2 separate regions of the Homo sapiens genome follow, and region 2 is linked to region 1. Evidence: promoter capture Hi-C in 16 types of primary human blood cells and fetal thymus (Javierre and others, 2016). All regions are on one chromosome and are shown on one strand. Each heading gives the region's core, a stretch centred on a gene start or on the middle of the fragment in contact. The rest is flanking DNA. Distances are from core to core; before and after follow the strand shown.

What was found. The method cuts DNA at HindIII sites, captures the fragments that hold promoters and counts their contacts. A CHiCAGO score of 5 or more calls a contact.
Region 2: a contact is called between a fragment that was not itself captured here and the fragment with the promoter of CFAP44-AS1 in region 1, in 1 of 17 cell types (erythroblasts). The highest score is 5.2, in erythroblasts.

The regions. Positions count from the first base shown.
Region 1 is chr3:113,402,463-113,405,530 of GRCh38, reverse strand. It overlaps CFAP44-AS1 (CFAP44 antisense RNA 1), which reads right to left and starts at 1,533. Exons shown (of 6, transcript NR_046728.1): 1 at 1,475-1,533. It overlaps CFAP44 (cilia and flagella associated protein 44), which reads left to right. Exons shown (of 35, transcript NM_001164496.2): 9 at 1,515-1,679. It overlaps SPICE1-CFAP44 (SPICE1-CFAP44 readthrough (NMD candidate)), which reads left to right. Exons shown (of 52, transcript NR_183050.1): 27 at 1,525-1,679. The HindIII fragment of the contact is 6,429 bases long and covers 1-2,774 here.
Region 2 is chr3:113,051,616-113,054,683 of GRCh38, reverse strand. The region is part of intron 1 of NEPRO-AS1 (NEPRO antisense RNA 1); the gene reads right to left. LOLI1 (lncRNA oncogene in liver cancer 1) reads left to right here. Exons shown (of 3, transcript NR_189285.1): 3 at 2,979-3,068. Among named protein-coding and RNA genes, the nearest start is that of RMP64, 33 kb to the right of the region's middle. RefSeq lists an enhancer at 2,981-3,068. The HindIII fragment of the contact is 1,464 bases long and covers 895-2,358 here.

The DNA of each region.
Region 1 (3,068 bases), core at 284-2,783:
GAGTAGACTTGCAAATGAAAGAAGTAATAAACAAATTTGGCCATAAAATGCCAGGTTGATTAGAAGGGAAATCTGGAGTCAAGGAAATGAGCTAGAACAGAAGCTGTTGCTGTCATCTAAAAAGAGATGATCAAGGGCCTAGACTTCTCAGAACAAATGGAAAAGGGAAGCTAGATATGAGTCACATTTCATAAAGGAATGCTTTGTAGGTTTTTGTCATCACTGCTGGCTTTCATCACTGGACAGAAGAAAATAAGTCTAAAGACTCTACCATAAATGGCTGAGGCTTAAGAACAGAATCAGTAAAGTCGGTAGGGTTGTTAAAAAATAGGTAGACCCAAGAGATAAAGGACTGAATAAAATCATCAGTTTCTCTAGATAAGGGGGAAATGGAAATGTAGACCTCTAGAGCATGCAGGTAAAAATTAGAATAGAGTTTCCCAAAGTGCATTTTTATGGAACATCAGTCTGTACAGAAGCTCCATAAAAATAAGACTTTTTAAGTCAAATTCCTTTGTATCTAAAAATTCCTCTTGGTGATTCCCAGCAAATACTTCTCTATTAAAAGTTCCCAGGGGTCCTAGAGAAAATAAAGTTGTTTGACTTTGTTTATCCTAGCAACAGCCTTCTGAGGCTGTGCAGTCAGAATAGGAGGTTTTGAGCCACCTTGCTTGGATTAGAATGCTGACTGGGTAGTTTTGGGCAAGTTACTTAACTGTTTTGTGCTTCAATGTTCTCCTCTGTAAAATGGGGATAATAATAGTCAGGGCTATCATTGGCCCATATGGTTCCTTTGCGGGGGTCAGAAAAAGCTGTTTGTTCTAGGAGAATGAGGTAACCAACATGCACAAGTGTACATGGTATCCCTGATAAATGTACCTAGTTCATATGGTTTTTTGCATTAAATAACTTAACATATATAAAGTACTGAACCAGTGCTTGGTACAGAGTCAGTACTCAATAAATATTACTTTATTTGTGACACTTGTTAAATATCTTAACAACTAATGTTTGGTGGCATGCACTTGGGAAAATGCCAGATTAAACAGGCTAATTTGAGAAAAGTTTTAGATGATTATCCTTGTTTGAAATTGGATACTATTATGCTATAATCTACTTAATTCAGTACTGGCCTTACAAGTTATCTAACATCTAAAATTTGATAGTATTACATTTAAAAAGTAGACTCTCATCTAATTCCACTCCTGTCTTTTGTCCTAAGAGATGTACCAAGAAGTCTATTGTATACATACATGAACAATTACCAACAACATACAGCCTAATCAAAAAGATGTAAAACTGATCATATTGCTGGAAGGAAATACATCAAAATGTTATTGGTAGTTGTGTCTGGGGTAGTAGGTCTTCATTTCTGTATTTTTTTATTTTTCCATTTAAAAATTTTATAATCAATAAAGATAACCTTAAAAAATAATTTTCACCTACTATTTGAGGCATAAATATGTACACTTACCTGTTTTAATGCACATTTCTTTTTTCCACATACCTGCCAGGTGCTCTCAGGGTCAGAATGGGGCAACATGCTGCTTTGGGAAGGTGGTCTGATCAAAGTGGAGCTCTGTCGAGGGACAAGCAAGTCATGTCACAATGGTCCCATTAACCAGATAATGCTGTATGAGGGTGAAGTTATCACTGTTGGGTCAGATGGATATGTTAGGGTAAGTTTTCTCGATACTTGGATGGTAGCACCCACGTTTAAGACTTGTAGCTCACCCAAAGGGTTTTATTTCTCATAAAGGTTATTTTGTGAAGGAGATCAGTAGTCATTTACTCCCAAGGCCAACTCACTTTAAATAATGCTTCTCTTGTGGTAAATATTTGCATTCTTGTCAAAATTAATTTACTGCATTTTACCACTGAAACTTTTTGAGAGGGCCTCTTGTTATTCTGATTCTGTTGAAATAATAGCTTCAGAAGATGAAAACTCATGTTAGCACAAGATGAACAGTAGACCCACATATCCTTCCAAAAGGCTCCATATGAATGGGCCATTTTGTAGGAACAAAGGTGCTGAACATTTGTTAGTTATTTTTTACTGAGGTTACCACTTAGAAATACACCCAGAGGTGAACTGATGGAGTTTGCCTATGGATGCTACATTCTTCTTGCTCCTTATGCTAGGGACCTCACTTGCTTTCTCTTGGGGACACTCTCTTGCCCAAAGCCTGGGCTAAGCTGGAACATTGCTCCAGCATCTAAGTCCCCTTGATTGCTATTGTCACACTTCTTCCACCCACTCTGTGTAGCACTTTCTGTTAATGAGTATTGTGCTGTGGCTGGTCAACCTGTAGCCTTGTGATTTGCCTTGTAGTCCTCTTGGTAGATATTTTCAGTGGGGCCTTTCATAAGAAAGTGGCAGTGTTCTATTGACATTCTTTAAGAAATGTTATCAAAAGTAAGATTCTTTTTTTTTTCTTTTTTAAGAGTCTGGTCACTCTGTTGCCACCGATTGAGCTTACTGTGTTTAATATTGTTTAACCCATATCTCCCACAGTGGGTCCTCTTACCACTGGCTTTTTGAGCCCCAGTGTATGTTTTTTACATTTACAATATTAAATTTAATCTTGTTAGATTTCACACATTTCTCTGAGAATCTTTTGTGTCCTTTATTTTGTCATATGATATATTTGCTATCTTTCCAAGATATACGTTACCCCAAAATGTCTAAATACCAAGTGGGAGAAAACCTCAGGAGAAAAGAAGTTAAATATTTCACAGAGGATCCCTTCATGGACACCAGTATTTCCTAAGCTTGCTTCTCTTTTCAGAGTCTGTCCTTGTCTTTTCAGTCCTTCACACAGTAAATCTTTACCTCTTACCCCATAGAAAAAACCTAGCCCAACTCCCAGGGGTTAGTCTGATCCTAGTTTGATCCTTAACCCTAACCCTGACCCTCAGATATTTCCCTCTTCCCCCAACCAGGCTAATCTATGGGACAGTCTTCCCAGAGTTCCTTTCTCAAAGTCTCAGTTATTCAGTCTAGGATCACATGGCAGGGTATGTTGCCAGAACTGTCCAGAATGAGCTTTGGCCCCTCACAGGGGAGG
Region 2 (3,068 bases), core at 377-2,876, 350 kb after region 1:
TGTGTGCAATGCCCACAGCAGCCTAGAGGAGGGAAAGTTGGCATAGATTGTAAGGAAAGCTATGTAGGATAGCATTTGATTTAGGCCTTGGAGAATAAATACAAGTTTGTCAATGGAAAGGGGGAAAGCAGGGTGTTTTAGGTCAAGGGAACAGGAGTGAAAGGTGTGTGTGGTGTGGTGGGGGAGTGTGGGTAGAGCTTGAGAAAATGTGTTCATAGCAGGGAAAGTTGTCTTGTGGGACAGAGCAGTAGTCCTCAGTGCTGGTGATTTTGCCCCCCAATGGTTCTTCATGGGGGTGATTTTGCCCCCCAGGGTACATTTGACAATGCCTACAGACATTTTTAAATTGTCACACTCTTGCACGGGGAGGGTATGTTCTACTGGTATCCAGTGGATAGAGGCCAGAGATGCCACTAAATATCCTACAATGCACAGGATAGTTCCTACAACAAAGAATTCTCCCCTTCAAAATGTCAACAGTGCCAAGGTGCAGAAACCTCTGGCTAGAATGTAGTAGTCCCAGAAAGAAGCAGAAGGAAATAAGATTGGAAAGATAGATTGGTGTTAATTTGTAAAATGCCTTAAATGCCATATAATATACTGAAGGTTTCCAGAAAAGGTAAACATTGTATTTTCATTGATTTAATTAGTCTCATTCAATTAAACAATATTTGTTTATAGTATAATTCAATAAAAAGTGATAATGCTTATAGGTGACAAAAGAGAATTTTCTTTACAAAATTCTATAATTTTAAGCCTTGAGGTCATTTGAACAGAGACTTTCTAATGGAAAAGCATCTATTTGAATCCTTTCCCTGGTTAGTAGCTGGATTCCTCTGCCTCCGGCCACTCCTCCTGCCTCCACTCAAGGTATCATGGTTATTCATTGAAGCTTCTGGCTGAGTTGGCCCATAAAGCACAGGGCTGCTCAGGCGGACCTGGTCTCTTTAAGACTGTGACTAGGAACTCATCACTTGTTTAGAGTCACAGCTAGGTGTGGGTTCTCAGGAAAGACTGGCTGTGGTCCAGGACTAATACAAGATGTTTTGAACAGAAGTCTGGGGATCACTTTTTCTAAGCCTTATTTGTGTTGGAAAAGTTGAGTTCATATTATCATCACTTAATTGAGTCCTTTTTTCCCATACTCTTCCATTAGGAACCCCTGCGTCACCCCCTGAGTGGGGTATTAGACCCACTTTATAATGAAGAGGTTGATAATTGGCAGGAAGTTACTTAGGAAATACAGTGCCATCTAAGCCTATTTTCAACCTTTTGAACAAAGGTATCCGCCCAGAAATAATTTCCCAATGTGAAGGGGAGGAAGAAGATTATAGGGCACACCCTTCCTTCAGATTAAAGAAGGCTGCTTACTAAAGTTTGTACACTAGTGGTTCTCAAATCGTTAAGCTCAGGGAACATTTTCAAAATACTGGGATTTCTGATGGCACACTTAATGGGATTAAATGGAATCCACTGTGATTATCATACTACAATGGCATTCATACATTAAAGTTAAAAGGATACAACCTATGTGCCCAGAGAGAAAGAGAGGTTACAATTGAAAAAGTCAGACCATCCTCCCACCTTTCCACTCAGAAAGTGTATGCCCCATGGTAGGTTTGCCAGGTAAAATACAGGAGGCCAAGTTCATTTTGAATTTCAGATACATAATGAATATTTTTGAATATAAGTTTGTCCCATGCTAAACTCATTTATCGGAAATTCAAATGTAACTGAATACCTTGTATTTTTATTTGCTAAATCCAGCAACCCTCCTGAGAGAGCGTTAGATGGGAGTCTTCCATTCATTCCACCAGTATCTGTGCCCACACACTTCTCCTGGGTGAGCTTCTTGCTCCTTTAGATATGATTGTTGTTAACGATGCATACAACATGGCCCCTAAATCCAAGCCAACTACTTCAGCTAGTGTCAACCTAAAGAAATCACAATCTGTGTTAATGCTGGAGGGACTTACTGAGAGACGGTATGTTTGTCTCTGATATGGTACATTCCCTAAGTGTTTTTGTTATTTGGCAAACATTAATTGAGCATCAGAAATGTTCCGGGCACTTAGGATGGAACAAGAAACTAAACATTGCTGTTCTCATGGTGCCTACATACTTGTGGGAGGAGACTGTTCGATGCTCATTTTTATCCCAGAGTTGACCTGAGTTAGATGTGAGTTCATGTATCAGCTGCAACACACTTTAGGACCTTGTTATTTGAATACCTCTGCTTTCTGCCCTGATTATGTTTTCTCGTATATTCCTGAGGCAAAGTTCTTTCTATGCCAGCATCTCCCACAGTAGACCTTATGAAGATAGACAGCAATAAATACTGGTGTAAAAGATAAAGCTTTTAGGAACATGACTCTCTTAACTGAAAACTTTTTGTGTCTTGGCATGTGTGCATGTGCTTATGTGTGTTTGTGAGTATACAGATAATGCACAAATAATGGGTTTCCTGGAAATGTTGGTTGTACAGAGACTATCTTTCTTGATCATTTTTGTCCCCAAAGCAAGCACTTGAAAGAATTCAGTAACAACTTCTTGAGCAGAAAAGATGGCCTCTGCTCAGAGCTTGGTGCAGCAGCAGACACTGAAATGTGGCTTGGCTCTGTCTCTTGGCATAGTTCTAGGGTGTTATGTTCCACGAGAGGCCTTGGAGGGAGGAGGCACTGGTACCTTTTCAGAATCTCGTCAAATCAGGCACAGACTTGCTGGCAGCCACAGCAAAGGGATCTTACTGATCTTTGCCCAACTCTCAGGAGGTAACTGGCAAGACAGAAGAAAGCAAAACAAGCAACCAAATCCGAGGCCTTATAAATTTGACTTGGAAATTTTGTCTCAAGGCTGTCAAAGAGTAGAAATAATGATTTCATTTTCTCCAAGTCCCATTCTTGGGCATTTCGTATTTAACGCAGATAAAACACATTCGAGTACCTATCAACTTTTTTTCTTTCTTTTTTTTTTTTTAGTCTAGCCGTTCTCAGCATCAGGTGACTCTGCTCCTTGAAAATACATTTAAGTGATGCCATTCCTGTCCAAAACCACCACTGACTCCTTCT